Linked DNA regions of Homo sapiens: all the other regions are linked to region 1. The links are contacts of gene promoters, found by promoter capture Hi-C in blood cells and fetal thymus (Javierre and others, 2016). All regions are on one chromosome and are shown on one strand. Each heading gives the region's core, a stretch centred on a gene start or on the middle of the fragment in contact. The rest is flanking DNA. Distances are from core to core; before and after follow the strand shown. Region 1 holds the start of XRCC5 (X-ray repair cross complementing 5). Region 2 overlaps WDFY1 (WD repeat and FYVE domain containing 1). Region 3 overlaps FARSB (phenylalanyl-tRNA synthetase subunit beta).

Region 1 (4,583 bases), core at 1,250-3,749:
CTTAATCTCACTGTTAATAATACTAAAAGGTAGGAAACTGTTGGACTAGATGAGGTTTAAGGTCCTTTCTGGAGTTCACATTCCTTGACTCTGACTGATAGTCTCGCAGTGCTTTGTACCGATCAAACAAACTGTGAGCAGTTCTGGGCTAACATCTTACCAGGAAAATTAATTACAAATGAACATGAAATGAGCAGCTTAGGGAAGAATCTGAAGAATACATGATGTAAAGAACAGTTGGAAATAACTAGATATTTAAGTCAGATGAGAAGATTAAAGGGAACATAACAGTTTTCCTCCCCACCATTTTTTTTTCCTTTTTTTTGAGACATGGTCTCACTGTCACCCAGGCTGGAGTACAGTGGCATGATCATGGCTCACTACTGCCTCCATCTCCCGGGCTCAAGTGATCCCGCTACCTCAGCCTTCCAAATAGCTGGGACCACAGTTGCACCCCACCATGCCCAGCTAATTCTTAAATTTTTTTTGTAGAGTTGGGGTCTCACTGTGTTGCCCAGGCTGGTCTCAAACTCCTTGGCTTAAGCAATCCTCCCACCTCCGCCTCCCAAAGTGCTAGGATTACAGGTATAGGCCACCGTGTCTGGCCTCCCCCCAGATATTTGACAACTGTTGTATAAAAGGATTGGTCTGCCAAGAAAGACAACGGGATCAACAGATGGAAGTTACAGGGAGACTGATGCGACTCCATACGAGGGATAAAAAATAACATTTAGAAGTGATCAATAAAGAAACTACTCTTTTTTAAGTGATCTCTTGACCCTAGAAATGTTTTAAAAACCTGAATGAATTCCTATCAGGGAAGTTATAGATGATTTCTAAATGTGGTTATATCTCAGGCAACACATGAAAAGAAAAGATTATTTTTCACTAGTTTACAAACAACACAATGCACTAAGAGATTTCTGAAGTAAAATTAGATTATTTGAAAAAAAAAACGTGCTAATAAACCACAAAATTCCTTTGAGAACAGTAAAATGCACATCCCAGTTTCAATGCCTGGGGCATGATAACCTAAAAAAACTTAAGAGTCACAAAATATGCTGCTGCACTTATTTGATACACACCCACAAAAGCTACTTTTAAACCAGAAAACTCTAGAGGACTAAAGCACTTTTGTCATGAATTAGGTATCCAGTAAGTGCCATCAAAGGGTTTCAAATATGGAACTTATTGTCTGGAAGCAGAATGGTCTATATTTCTGAGTTCCTATCTGGCAGCAGTAAGAAAACTGAGAAAGAGAAACCGGGTAGCATAGCAACTCTTCATTTCTATACCGAAGCAATACAGGCTGTTAGAATTTTACTTCCAGTTCATCTGCAACAAACAGCTCCTCCACTAGAGCTACAAAGTTTTCAGCAGCTGAAAGAGGACGAAAAAAGGAGGTGAGTGGCATTATTAAAAGTTCATGATCGTTTTAATCAACATTTCTCAATGAGGAGTTGAGGGAACTAGGGATCAGTTGCTCAAACTCGTATCTTGTTTATCTGTATTGAATAAATTCATTAATCCCTGGAACCACATCTCCCTCTAGTGACCCTTCAGAGACAACTACCACTCTTTTATGTTGAAAAAAAAAAATCACTTTAAAATTCATTGTAATTTCTGTTACTGATCTGGGACACCAATGGTCATAGATTTCTAGCAACACAGGGGTTCTCCAGGGCCCTGAAACCAGACAGCTTGGATTCAAATCCGGATTTCACCAGGAAAAGCCCACAGTTCTTTATTCCTCGGTTTTCCCACTTGCAAAATGGGGATAAATAGTTTTCACTTCAAGGGGTTGTGAAGATTAAATGAGATAAGAATAAAAGGTTTAGATCCGTCCCTCACAGAGTGGGCTTTCAATAAATGCGGGATACTACGTTATTATAAAGCTAATAATACGACGCTTTACAGTTTAAGTTATTTTAGTCACAGATAGTCCCTCTCTTAAGTTTTACAACAAGCCCTGTGGGATAGTTGCTTTATCACAGCTAATTTTCATTCTCATAGAGATCTTAAGAACCCAGGCTCGGAAGTAATAGAGGAAGTGGGGCTAGGGAGTGGAATGGGATAAAGAGAGAGAGAGGGGAGGCGGGTGGGGAGGCAGGTGAGACAAAGAGCAGGTAGAGAGGGAGAAGAGGGATGGGATGGGTGGGTAATGGAAGAGGTGGAGTCAGCGAGGCTCAAATTCAGGTCTTGGAGCCCCAAATCTCCAGCTTTTCTCATAGCGCATCCCTCGGTCCCGGCCCTCCTGACTGAGCCCACCACCATGATCTTCTCTTGCCCCATTCTTTGTCTTGACCGCGATCCCACGATTCCTGCTTCCGAACCACCCTCTCCGGATCCCCAGTCCGGGTAAAGCCCAAGTCCATGGCTTTCTTTATACCTTATTCCCCGACCGCACCATGTTGCCGGTCCTCAGGCGCTTTGGTCGCTTCTTCCGGGCGGGAACCTGCCGTGTCGCAACTCGCTTCCGGTGGACAAGCGGCAGATAGCGGAAAGAGCCGCTTCGTTTCCTGCTAGGCCTGAAAGGGGCGGGGAAACCGTGCCCCGGAACTCTGAGCATGCGCAGATTCCCGCCGAGCTTGCGCAGATTCCCGCCGAGCTCGCGCAGATTCCGGCCGAGCATGCGCAGATTCTCTCCGAGCATGCGCAGATTCCCGCCGAGCATGCGCAGATTCCCGCCGAGCATGCGCACATTCTCTCCATTCCGCCGTAGTCGGGAGCGTGTGGTGTTTGAGCCGCCTGAAACGCTAGTACGACAGATTTACTTAAAGATTCACTTAATCACTTAAAGATTCACGTCCCTTTTCTCTCATTGAGAATAACACCTAAGGCATTTTGTGTCAGAGCTCTGGAGTTAGATTTCTTTTCTTTTTTTTACTTTTTTAAAAAATCTTTTTTCCTTTAATTTCATTTTTTCATTTATTTTTTATAACTTTTGATTTTTTTTTTTCTCATCACTTGTGGGTTTTTTTCTACTTTTTATTTTTGGTTATTGTGGAGTTAGATTTTCTTGAGTATGAGTATGAATGCAGAAAGTCACTTAACTTCTCTAAAAGACTCAGTTTCTTCTAAAAAGTGATAATGAAACACTTCACCGATGTGATAACCTTAGAGCCAACTGGGGAAGAAGAGTAGGACGTCCCCAGGAGCACAAAAGTAGAAGGGAGATTCTACTCTGCAGAGAAAATGGGATGCACAAACGCCTGGAGGCATGAGACTTTATCTGCTAAGGCTCTCCCAGTAGTTAGCAGTGGCTCCAGCTTGGAAGGGAGGAGTCAAGGTTTAATTTAGAAGACAAGTCTAGGGAGATATAGAAATAGCAGCTGTCATCACAGTGCTTTACTTGATCACGAGCCCTTTGTCCAGCCCGCATCCCCTACCCCTTTGAGGGAGGCAGGCCCAAGCAGTACCTTGCATAGAAATGACTGCTTTCTATACCATATGACCCCCAGCTGACAGGTGGCTGGACGAAGGGTCTGGCAACCTGCAAAGTGTCTGCAAACCTCTGCCCAAACTGAGAAAATCAAGTCCAATCAATATTCTCTCCTGCTTGAAAATTGTTTCTGGGAAAAGCAAGAATTGAAGCTGAAAAGATGTGGAGAATCTATGAGCCAAAATTATAAATACATTGAAGCCTCTAGAATGTAGAGTCAGACATATTCAGAGGTGCTCATAGAGCCCAGGAGGTTCTTCCAGCTTTTGATTCAAACTCAAGGAGTTACTTAAAAGCTGAAATATTATTTTTAATAATACTTTAAAGGAACAGCAGCGCCCTGGCCGCTCAGCTTTGCGCGGGCTGCAGCAGGCAGGCAGGCAGGCACGGACACTCGCCCTTCCCTGCGGGTAAGATTTCCAAGAGAAAGATCAGCTCGGCAGAAGGGGCGGGGAAGATCTGTGAGGTTGTCAGCTAAATCTCCTCCAGCAAAGGTGGAAACGAAGCCCAGCGGAGGCAGCAGGACAGCATAAATTTTCAGACAAAGAAGCAAACAAGGAAAAATGGGAGCAAAGGGCAAACAGGCCAAGTGGCTATCCGGGAAACAAAAGATTTATCTGTGGAAAGCGGAGAAACTGAAACAAGGAGAGTCCAGCCTCTGGTGAAGCAGGACAGAAAGAAGCCAAATCTGATTAGTATCACATACCATATCTTGTCAGTGGTCCTTGTCTCCCTTCTTGTACGATCCAGAGCTAGAGAGAGAGAGAAAAGGAAAGAAACAGACAGGGTGTCGCTCGGCCGAGGCTGGAGTCCAGTAGCACAATCATAGCTCTCTGCACCCTGGAACCCCTGGGCTCAAGCGATTCACTTACCTCAGCCTCCCAGGTAGCTGGGACCACAGGTGTGTGCCACCAAGCCCAGCTAATTTTTGTGGGGTTTCTGTGTGTGTGTGGAGGCGGGGTCTTCCTATGTTGCCCAGCCTGGTCTTGAACTCCTGGGATCAAGCGATCCTCCCGCTTCAGCCTCCCAAAGTGCTGGGATGACAGGTGTGAGCAACTGCACTTGGCCTCAGAGGAATATTTTTATCAACTATTTTGATAAGGAATATTTTTATCAACTATTTTTAAATGCAAGTTTTTTA
Region 2 (4,583 bases), core at 1,214-3,713, 7.8 Mb before region 1:
AGCCGGGCGCGGTGGCGGGCGCCTGTAGTCCCAGCTACTGGGGAGGCTGAGGCAGGAGAATGGCGTGAACCCGGGAAGCGGAGCTTGCAGTGAGCCGAGATTGCGCCACTGCAGTCCGCAGTCCGGCCTGGGCGACAGAGCGAGACTCCGTCTCAAAAAAAAAAAAAAAAAAAGTTAGCCTTTGGCCAGGCGCAGTGGCTCATGCCTGTAATCCCAGCACTTTGGGAGGCCGAGGCGGGTGGATAACAAGGTCAGGAGGTCGAGACCATCCTGGCTAACACGGCGAAACCCAGTCTCTACTAAAAATTCAAAAATTAGCCAGGTGTGGTGGCAGGCGCCTGTAGTCCCAGCTACTCGGGAAGCTGAGGCAGGAGAATGGCGTGAACCTGGGAGGCAGAGCTTGCAGTGAGCCAAGATTGTGCCACTGCACTCCAGCCTGGGCGATAGAGCCAGACTCCGTATCAAAAAAAAAAAAAAGTTAGCAGCCTTTATTCGGTCAAATATTTTATTCATGAATCATGCGTTTTGGGTAAGTTGCTAAATATTTGAGATTGCTGGTCAGGAGCAGTGCTGATAAATGTTTTTGGAAAGTGATTACTAAGCTGCTCTGGGACTGAAACGTTCTGGGGGAGCTTGCATCTGCTCACTTTTTCACTCGTGCACCACTGTTATTGCAGAGCCCAGGTAGATGACTGGACCAGGATGGGGTTGGCGTTTGAGGTTTCTGTTGTGTTCAGGCTCTTGCAACTTCCTTGAAGGGAGAACAACCTTTTTAGTAGGTGCTACACTTCATGAGATGTAATGAAAGCACATGGGCGTGGGTTTTTTCTTGGTGTTAGCCATGGTGGTTTGTTTTCACATTGTCATAAATACGTGTCACGTTCTTCACTCATTTACTCATTCATTTAGAAAAAGCTTTTTTATTGAGTGTCAGGCCCTGAGGACACAACAGGGGTCAAAAGCCACACTACCTTGGCCAGGCAAGGTGGCTCACGCCTGTAATCCCAGCACGTGTGTGGGGCCCATGCTAGACCTGTGGGGGAGAGACAGCTGACAGCTAAGTTGCTCTTTCCCAAGGGCTGAACAGTCTAGTGAAGAGATGGCCCCTATGTATTCAGCATCCAGTGCTGGGAAGACACAGGAAGAGGAGGCTCTTTGGGCTGGGGCCGGGGTTTGGGGACAGCCTCCTAGAGAAGGTCGTTGAGCTGGTCTTCATGGATAGAGGAGTGGCATCTAGAAAGGAAGGAGGGATGCACCCTCATCCCAGGCAGAGGAAGGAGGAAAGGACAGGAGGGAATTGTAAGAGGGAAAGAACCATAGCTATTTCTAAGTGACCAGAGCAAAAGGTGGGCAGTGACAATAGCAACAGAGAAGACTGAGAGCTAGAAGGACCCAGTGTCCGGTTTTGTTTTGTTTTTTAAATTAAAAAAAAAAAGTTTTTGGGGGCCAAGTGCGGTGGCTCACGACTGTAATCCCAGCACTTTGGGAGGCCAAGGCAGGCAGATCACCTGAGGTTAGGAGTTCAAGAACAGCCTGGCCAACATGGTGAAACCCCATCTCTACTATAAATACAAAAATTGGCTGGGTGCAGTGGCTCACACTTGTAATTCCAGCACTTTGGGAGGCCGAGGCGGGTGGATCACCTGAGGTCAGGAGTTTGAGACCAGCCTGACCAACATGGAGAAACCCCATCTCTACTAAAAATACAAAATTAGCTGGGCGTGGTGGCACATGCCTGTAATCCCAGCTACTTGGGAGGCTGAGGCAGGAGAATCACTTGAACCCAGGAAGCAGAGGTTGAAGTGAGCCGAGATCATGCCATTGCCCTCCAGCCTGTGCAACAAGAGTGAAACTCTGTCTCAAAAAACAAAAACAAAAAAACCCACAAAAATTAGCTGGGCATGGTGGCACACACCTGTGGTCCCAGCTACTTGGGAGGCTGAGACAGGAGAATCACTTGAACCTGGGAGGCGGAGGTTGCAGTGAGCTGAGATCACGCCACTGCACTCCAGCCTGGGCAACAAGAACAAAACTTTGTCTCAAAAAAAAAAAAAAGAAAGAAATAAGGAATTTGGACCTTATTTTGCAGGCAGTGTAGAACCATCAAAGAGTTCAAAACAAGCAAATGATATGATCGGAATTTGTAATTTAGAAATAACAATAGCTAACCTGTTGAAAGTCCCTTTTCTCTACGAGTACAGAATTGGACCTTATGTGTTATTGGATCCAATCCTCACACTTCCTCCCTATAAGGTAGGTACAGTCACCTTCTCTTATCAGCAGTTCCAAAATTTAGTGCATTCTAAACGTCAGAAGTGTGTATGTGTGTGTGTAAATTGGACCTGAAAACTCGTTTGGTGCTAAAATTTGGCCTGAACAAATGAGACTGTTTGTAATCTTTATTTACTGCATGCATCACAGTGGCATGATCTTGGCTCACTGCAACCTCTGCCTCCCAGGTTCAAGCGATTCTCCTGCTTCAGCCTCCCGAGTAGCTGGGATTACAGGCACCCGCCACCACACCCAGCTAACTTTTGTATTTTTAGTAGAGACAGGGTTTCACCGTCTTGGCCAGGCTGGTCTTGAACTCCAAACCTCGTGATCCACCCGCCTCGGCCTCCCAAAGTACTGGGATTACAGGCATGAGCCAGTAGCTTTTTACATTTAAAGTAGGGTCCAGCTGAAGTGAATTCATTTTACAAACGCTAAAAGCAGTGAGAACTAGCTGAGAGCATTTTGAGAAGAAAAGTGAAAGGTATGAAGGTTTTCCTGAAGTTAGTATCCACTTTTGTAAAATCTAGGCCAGTGGTTCTGGGCCAGGGGTGGTTTTCCCACCCAGGGAACATTTGGTAATATCTGGAGACATTTTTGGTTGTCATGATGTGGGGGAGGTGATATGGTTTGGCTGTGTCCCCACCCAAATCTTATCTTGAATTGTAGCTCCCATAATTCCCATGTGTTGTGGGAGGGACCCAGTGGGAAATAATTGAATCATGAGGGCAGTTTCCCCCATACTGTTCTCGTGGCAGTGAGTAAGTCTCAGGAGATCTGATGGTTTTACAAGGGAAAACCCCTTTGGCTTGGTTCCTATTTCTCTCTTGTCTGCTACCATGTAAGACATGTCTTCTGCCTTCCACCATGATTGTGAGGCTTCCCTAGCCACATGGAACTGTGAGTCCATTGAATCTCATTTTGTTTATAATTACCTAGTTTCTGGCATGTGTTTATCAGCAGTGTGAAAACGGACTAATACTGTATGTAACTAATACTGGCATCTAGGTAGAGGGTAGGGATGCATCTCAGTATCCTGTTATGCCCCACACCAAAGGATTATTGAGCCCCAAATGTCAATAGTGCTGATATTGAGAAACCCCAGTCCGGGCTTCATGTACTTATCTGGCCTCTCTAGAACACTGGTTCCTTAACTTGAATGTGCATCAGAATCACCTGGGGGTCTTGTTGAAATTCGGGTTGCTGGACCCCACCCCCAGAGTTTCTGATTTGGAAAGTCAGGTGGGGCCTGAGAGTTGGCATTTCTGCCAAGTTTCCAGGTGACGTTGATGCTGATGCTGCTAGTCCAGGGACCACACTTAGAACCACGGCTCTACAAGAAAGGAGGGTTATTTGTCACTGTGCTTGCCTATGTACAACCACCAAGAAAGAATACTGAATACAGAAATTAGCCAGGCATGGTAGTGTGCACCTGTAATCCTAGCTACTTGGGAGACTGAGACGGGAGGATCACTTGAGCCCGGTAGGCGGAGGTTGAGGTGAGCTGAGATCGTGCCACTGCACTCCAGCCTGGGTGACAGACCAAAACCCTGTCTCAAAAAAAAAAAAAAAATACTGCTTACATTTTATCCTCTTTTTTTTTGTCACCTTCTGGGATATATTTACCTGGGGTCATTCACAGATAGCCACCTAGTTCACTGTAATCAAACTGCATATGACAAAGCTAGATACGGTCAGCACTCCAAAGAGTATTAAGCCAATGTGGAATATCAAAGCTTAATGCCATTACACCTGGGAGTCACAGGTCATTAGTGGTTTGGGTGGTCAGCTTAGGGTTCTGCTTAGAAACCTTTATGGATTAATGTCTCGTGAATGGTTAATAGAAAATGGTACTACTTCTTGTATGAAGTCATTAGTATTTTGCTGAAGTAATAATTACCTTAAGCTCTTTAATTTAAATTTAAGTTTAAGAATTTGAACTACAGTGGTGACTTTCCTGGTAGGGGAAACAGAAAATAAGACTCTGCTTTCAGAGCGGAACTAAAATGGTGAGACAGTAGGAACCAGTATGTTTGCTTTTTGGACTTTTTTGCTGTGGACTGCACCAAAAATGTAGACAGTCAGTTGATTGAATGATACAATTTTTAAAAGGTAAAAGCTTTATAAAGCCTTATAAATAAGTTAAGGCTATAGGCCTACTGTCTTCACTTTTGAGAAATAGAGTTTGTGGATGGACGTACTTATACTGTTGCATTAGGGGCTCGTAGGCCAAGATTGGTTTCTGCAGGAAACTCAATTTTGTTTGTCCCAAGTTAAAGATAAATCTCATGTGATTTAAAATGTTTTGAGAT
Region 3 (4,583 bases), core at 1,470-3,969, 6.5 Mb before region 1:
TTATCTGTTTATTTTAAGAAGTTATTTTAATCTAAACAGACATTTTCTTACTTAATTTAACTTTAAGCTCTGTTTTATTTGGTATTTCTGGAAATCATGAGCTTTTTCTAAGGGGAAGAATTGAACACATCCTAATACTTTGGTGTGCCAGAGTTCTTTTCTGTCAGTAAATCCTAATTAACCTCTTTAATGAGCTTTGGAAGTTTACGTATTTCAAGGGATATATCGATATTGTCTAAGTTATTAAATTTATTGACAAAGTTGTTCATAATGTTTCTTTATTATCCTTTTAATATCTGTGGTATCTGTAGTGATGTCACCTCTTTCATTCCTCTGTCTTCTCTCTTTTTTTTCCTTTGATCAGTGTGGCTAGAGGTTTATCAGTTTTATTGATCTTTTTGTTTGTTTGTTTGTTTTGAGACAGGGTTTTTCTCTGTTGTCCAGGCTGGAGTCCAGTGGCATGATCATCTCATTGTAACTCCAGAACTCCTGTGCTCAAGTGATCCTCCTGCCTCAGCCTCCTAAGTAGCTGGGACTACAAGCATGAGTCACCACACCTGGCTAATTTTTAAATTTTTTTGTAGAGACAGGGGTCTTGCTTTATTGTCCAGGCTGGCCTTATAGGCTTTAAGTGATCCTCCTGTTTCAGCCTCCTAAAGTGCTGGGGTTACAGTTATGAACCACTCATTTTATTGATCTTTCAAAGAATGAACTTTTGGTTTCATTGATTCTTCTCTTATTTTTTCCTCTATTTTTATTGATTAAGCCTCTTTTTTAGGCTAATTAGTCCCTACTGCTGAGGCAAGACCCTTTGCCTACTATATCCATTGCTACATGAGCAGTGAAGTTTTAGTCTGTGTGAGCATGGAGCACTGTTTCCTCTAATTCCGTTGAGTAATTCTTTCCTGGCCTTGGGTAGTTTTCTCAGCTGCATGTTCTGATCAATACTGAGCTCACCAGTATTCCAGTGGGACCCTCTGCATATCTTCAGAGTTCTCTCTCTGTGTAGCTCTCTGGTTTTCTCTGGGACTCTGCCCACCTTGGCCTCCCCAAACTCTCAGCTATGTCTCTTGCTCTCAGGGAGTCTCCTGGACTCCACTGGGCCTGCTTTCCTGCCCTATAGTCAGGGCTCACCTCACTTGTTTCCTGTGTCTCAGGGATTGCTGCCCTTTATTGCCTGCTGTTAGTTGCCATAAAAACTATTGCTCCATATATTTTGCTCTTCGGTTGTTTCAGGCAAGAGTAAATCTAGTGTGTTATTCTGTCTTGGCTTGAAGTGCCTAGTGAGTCTTTTACTTCAGTTATTTTACTTTTCATCTCTGCAATCCACTGCCTTTTAAAAAAAATAGTTCCTTCTTTTCTGCAGATATTTCCTCGTCTATTTATTATGTGTATGTTCTTCCATAATTCTTGAACATTTTTTAGTAGCAGCTTTAAAATCTATGTGGCAGTATCAGAATCTGGGGCATCTTAGCGTTGGTTTCTATGGACTAGTTTTGTCTGGAGTAAGAGTCATGTCTTCCATATTTCTTCTCATGTCCATTGCCTTTTGATGCATATAGAATATCATATTAGGGAAGAGTCTTGACTTTGCTATGTTTCTCTGAAGAGTGGTTTTTGTTCTTTCAGGCAAAGACTTGAATACTTAGCTAGATTCAGACTCAGCAGTGGTTCAGTTTTCTGCTCAGTTCTTTCAGCTTTCAGTTGCTGCTCTATTATAGCAAGACTTTGAAATTTTTACCATTATGTTAGATAAAACCTTGATTTCTGAATATTTTTAGTTTTTTCATATCTTACTATATTTGGAATGTTAATCTTTTTACTGTATATATGTTGTAAACCTTTTTTTGTGTTTTTTGACTTTTAGTTTCTTTTGGACATGTAAGGTTTTTAATTTGGGTATAGTTATCAGTCTTCCTGTTTGACTTTTAGATTTTATGACCTACTTAAGAAGTGGTGTCCTGGAAGTTGACTCTACAGTTTTAAGCATATTCTTTTTTTTTTTTTTTTTTTGAGATAGAGTCTCGCACTCTCGCCCAGGCTGGAGTGCGCCAAGCTCTGCCTCCTGGGTTCATGCCATTCTCATGCCTCAGCCTCCTGGGTAGCTGGGACTACAGGCGCCCGCCAACCACATCTGGCTAATTTTTTGTATTTTTAGTAGAGACGGGGTTTCACCATGTTAGCCAGGATGGTCTTGATCACCTGACCTTGTGATCCACCTGCCTCGGCCTCCCAAAGTGCTGGGATTACAGGCATGAGCCACCGCGTGCGGCCTAAGCATATTCTTCTATATTTTCTTATCTTTTTTTTTTTTTTTTTGAGACAGAGTCTCACCTTGTTGCCCAGGCTGGACTACAGTGGTGCAATCACAGCTCACTATAGCCTTGACCTTCCTGGCTCAAGTGATCCTCCTACTTCAGCCTCCCAAGTAGCTGAGACCACAAGTGTGTGGCACCACAGCCAGCTAATTTTTACATTTTTTGTGGAGATGGGGTCTCACCATGTTGCCCAGGCTGGTCTTGAACTCTTGGGCTCAAGCAGTCTTGCTGCCTTGGCCTCCCAAAGTGTTGAGATTTCAGGCGTGAGCCACCTCACCTGGCCTCTGTATTTTCTTTGAATAATTTTTATGGTGTCTTTTGTATGTGTGCCTGTGTGTTTGTCTTTTGCTTTTCAAAATGCTTAGGTCTTTGATTCATCTGGAGTTACGTTTTTTTGTTGCTGATTTGAAGTTGAAATTTTGGTGATGTTTTGAGGTACTGTTTTAGGATTAAGGGACCAATGTTAATATCTAAGAAGACAGACTTTCTTACCTGTGCATTTGTCAATTATTAATTTACCTGCATTTATCAAACCATGCATATTTTATCCTATGATAGTTCTGGGTTTATTATCTTCTGTAAGCATATGACTAATTGAGTAAAGTAACACTCCCTTATTGCCTGTTAGCAATTCTTTTTAACCCTATTTATTAAAGTTGTAGTTCACCAGTCCTGCAGTCCTAGAAGTTGACCAAAATTTAATATTAAGCATTTTAAACTAATTTAGTGCACATACACTTTAAACTAAAGAATGTTAAGAACACAAATTTTGACCAAGTTCCTCCTTTCAAATTGACTGTTAGAAAGCCAAACTTGTGTCCTTTCCTGGTAAGACTTAGGCTTTTAGATTCTAATTCAGAATTAACATTTCCTGGCTCGGTTTTACATCCCTACTTCTATTTCTTTCTCTCCTATTTTGTTGCTTGCTGTAATTTCCTAAAATTACCTTAAATCCTTTGTGGATAAACTGTAGAACAAGTGAAATGAATACCTTTTGAACTTTCCTTATACATTAAAGTAAACTTGAACTGTAATTCAGAGCTGTTGAAATTAAAATTAAATTTTTTCCATGACTAAGGTAATGCAGCTATGTGATAAAATTTAGGAAAACATAGAAAAGCCAAAAAACCCACAATTCGATAGTTCGTTCTAATTTATTAAAACATGTTTACTTGAGTATATCAAGAAGAAATAGGTTAAAAGAGGTAAAGGAAATGCTAACTTTGAAGATATCCTAGAAACAATATTTGGGAAAAGATAATGGCAAGGAATTTTCTTCAGCTCCTGAAATCATGTATTTCAGGTAGTTTTGTGATTTCTCAGTACTCTTAATGGTTGTGAGAATTTGTTCATTATATGCCACTAATGATGCCATGTAGTAGCAATATGCTGTTTCAGGGAAGTATCTGAAATAATTAAAAAAAATATGTAGTCTATATTTATGTTATCTTTAGAATTTCGGCTTTAGAATATTCAAATCTGTCTCATTCTCCTCCTTTCCTTTCCTCCCTCCTTCTCCCTCAACCTCTCAACAATTAGGAAAAGAGCACTGGTTGCCATTGGTACCCATGATTTGGACACTTTGTCGGGCCCATTTACTTATACTGCAAAGCGTCCTTCAGATATCAAATTCAAGCCTCTAAATAAGACCAAGGAGTATACAGCCTGTGAACTGATGAACATATACAAGGTAAATATTCTTTTTGATTATGCAGCAGCTTTGCAAAAATCATGAAATTCCATCAAAGTCAAGCCTTGCAACTAGGGAAATGTAATCAATACTTTTAAAAAATAGCAGTGTCTGGACTCCAACCTAGAGACAGTGATTCATCTGATCTAGAGTGGGACCTGAACATAGTTTTATTTTATTTATTATTAAATTTTTAACCTCTGATATGATTTCAGTGTACTGCTAGGATTGAGAACCACTGAAGTAGACCATACCACATTGTAATCTTCAATTGAAACTCATGCAAGTATAAAGAACAGTAAAACTTAGCTAGTGTTTTTTGTGGGAAATACTGTTACAAGCTGTCTATCTCCCATTATTTAAAAGTCCAGCAGCGAAAATGAATTCAGTAGTCACTTTGAATTGTATTTAATAAGTAGAAAAAATAGGTGTCGTTTAGAAAAAGCAGGGTCATCCTTGCCCTGATTTGCAAGTGACTTCTTCGTATTTATCTAAATAGTTTTGTCATGGTTTATGTTTCCTTTGAAATGATTCAGGCATACCAGTGCAAATCTGTTTTCACTCTTGAGAAATGA

Evidence for each region. The method cuts DNA at HindIII sites, captures the fragments that hold promoters and counts their contacts. A CHiCAGO score of 5 or more calls a contact.
Region 2: a contact is called between a fragment that was not itself captured here and the fragment with the promoter of XRCC5 in region 1, in 1 of 17 cell types (neutrophils). The highest score is 6.0, in neutrophils.
Region 3: a contact is called between a fragment that was not itself captured here and the fragment with the promoter of XRCC5 in region 1, in 1 of 17 cell types (neutrophils). The highest score is 5.9, in neutrophils.

The regions. Positions count from the first base shown.
Region 1 is chr2:216,107,264-216,111,846 of GRCh38, reverse strand. It overlaps XRCC5 (X-ray repair cross complementing 5), which reads right to left and starts at 2,499. Exons shown (of 21, transcript NM_021141.4): 1 at 2,390-2,499. The coding sequence starts at 2,410. RefSeq lists an enhancer at 2,154-2,775. The HindIII fragment of the contact is 16,954 bases long and covers 1-4,583 here.
Region 2 is chr2:223,938,118-223,942,700 of GRCh38, reverse strand. All of the region lies in intron 1 of WDFY1 (WD repeat and FYVE domain containing 1), which reads left to right. Among named protein-coding and RNA genes, the nearest start is that of WDFY1, 4.9 kb to the left of the region's middle. The HindIII fragment of the contact is 3,092 bases long and covers 918-4,009 here.
Region 3 is chr2:222,633,816-222,638,398 of GRCh38, reverse strand. FARSB (phenylalanyl-tRNA synthetase subunit beta) reads left to right here. Exons shown (of 17, transcript NM_005687.5): 6 at 3,858-4,008. Among named protein-coding and RNA genes, the nearest start is that of FARSB, 20 kb to the left of the region's middle. RefSeq lists a silencer at 5-152. The HindIII fragment of the contact is 6,400 bases long and covers 1-4,583 here.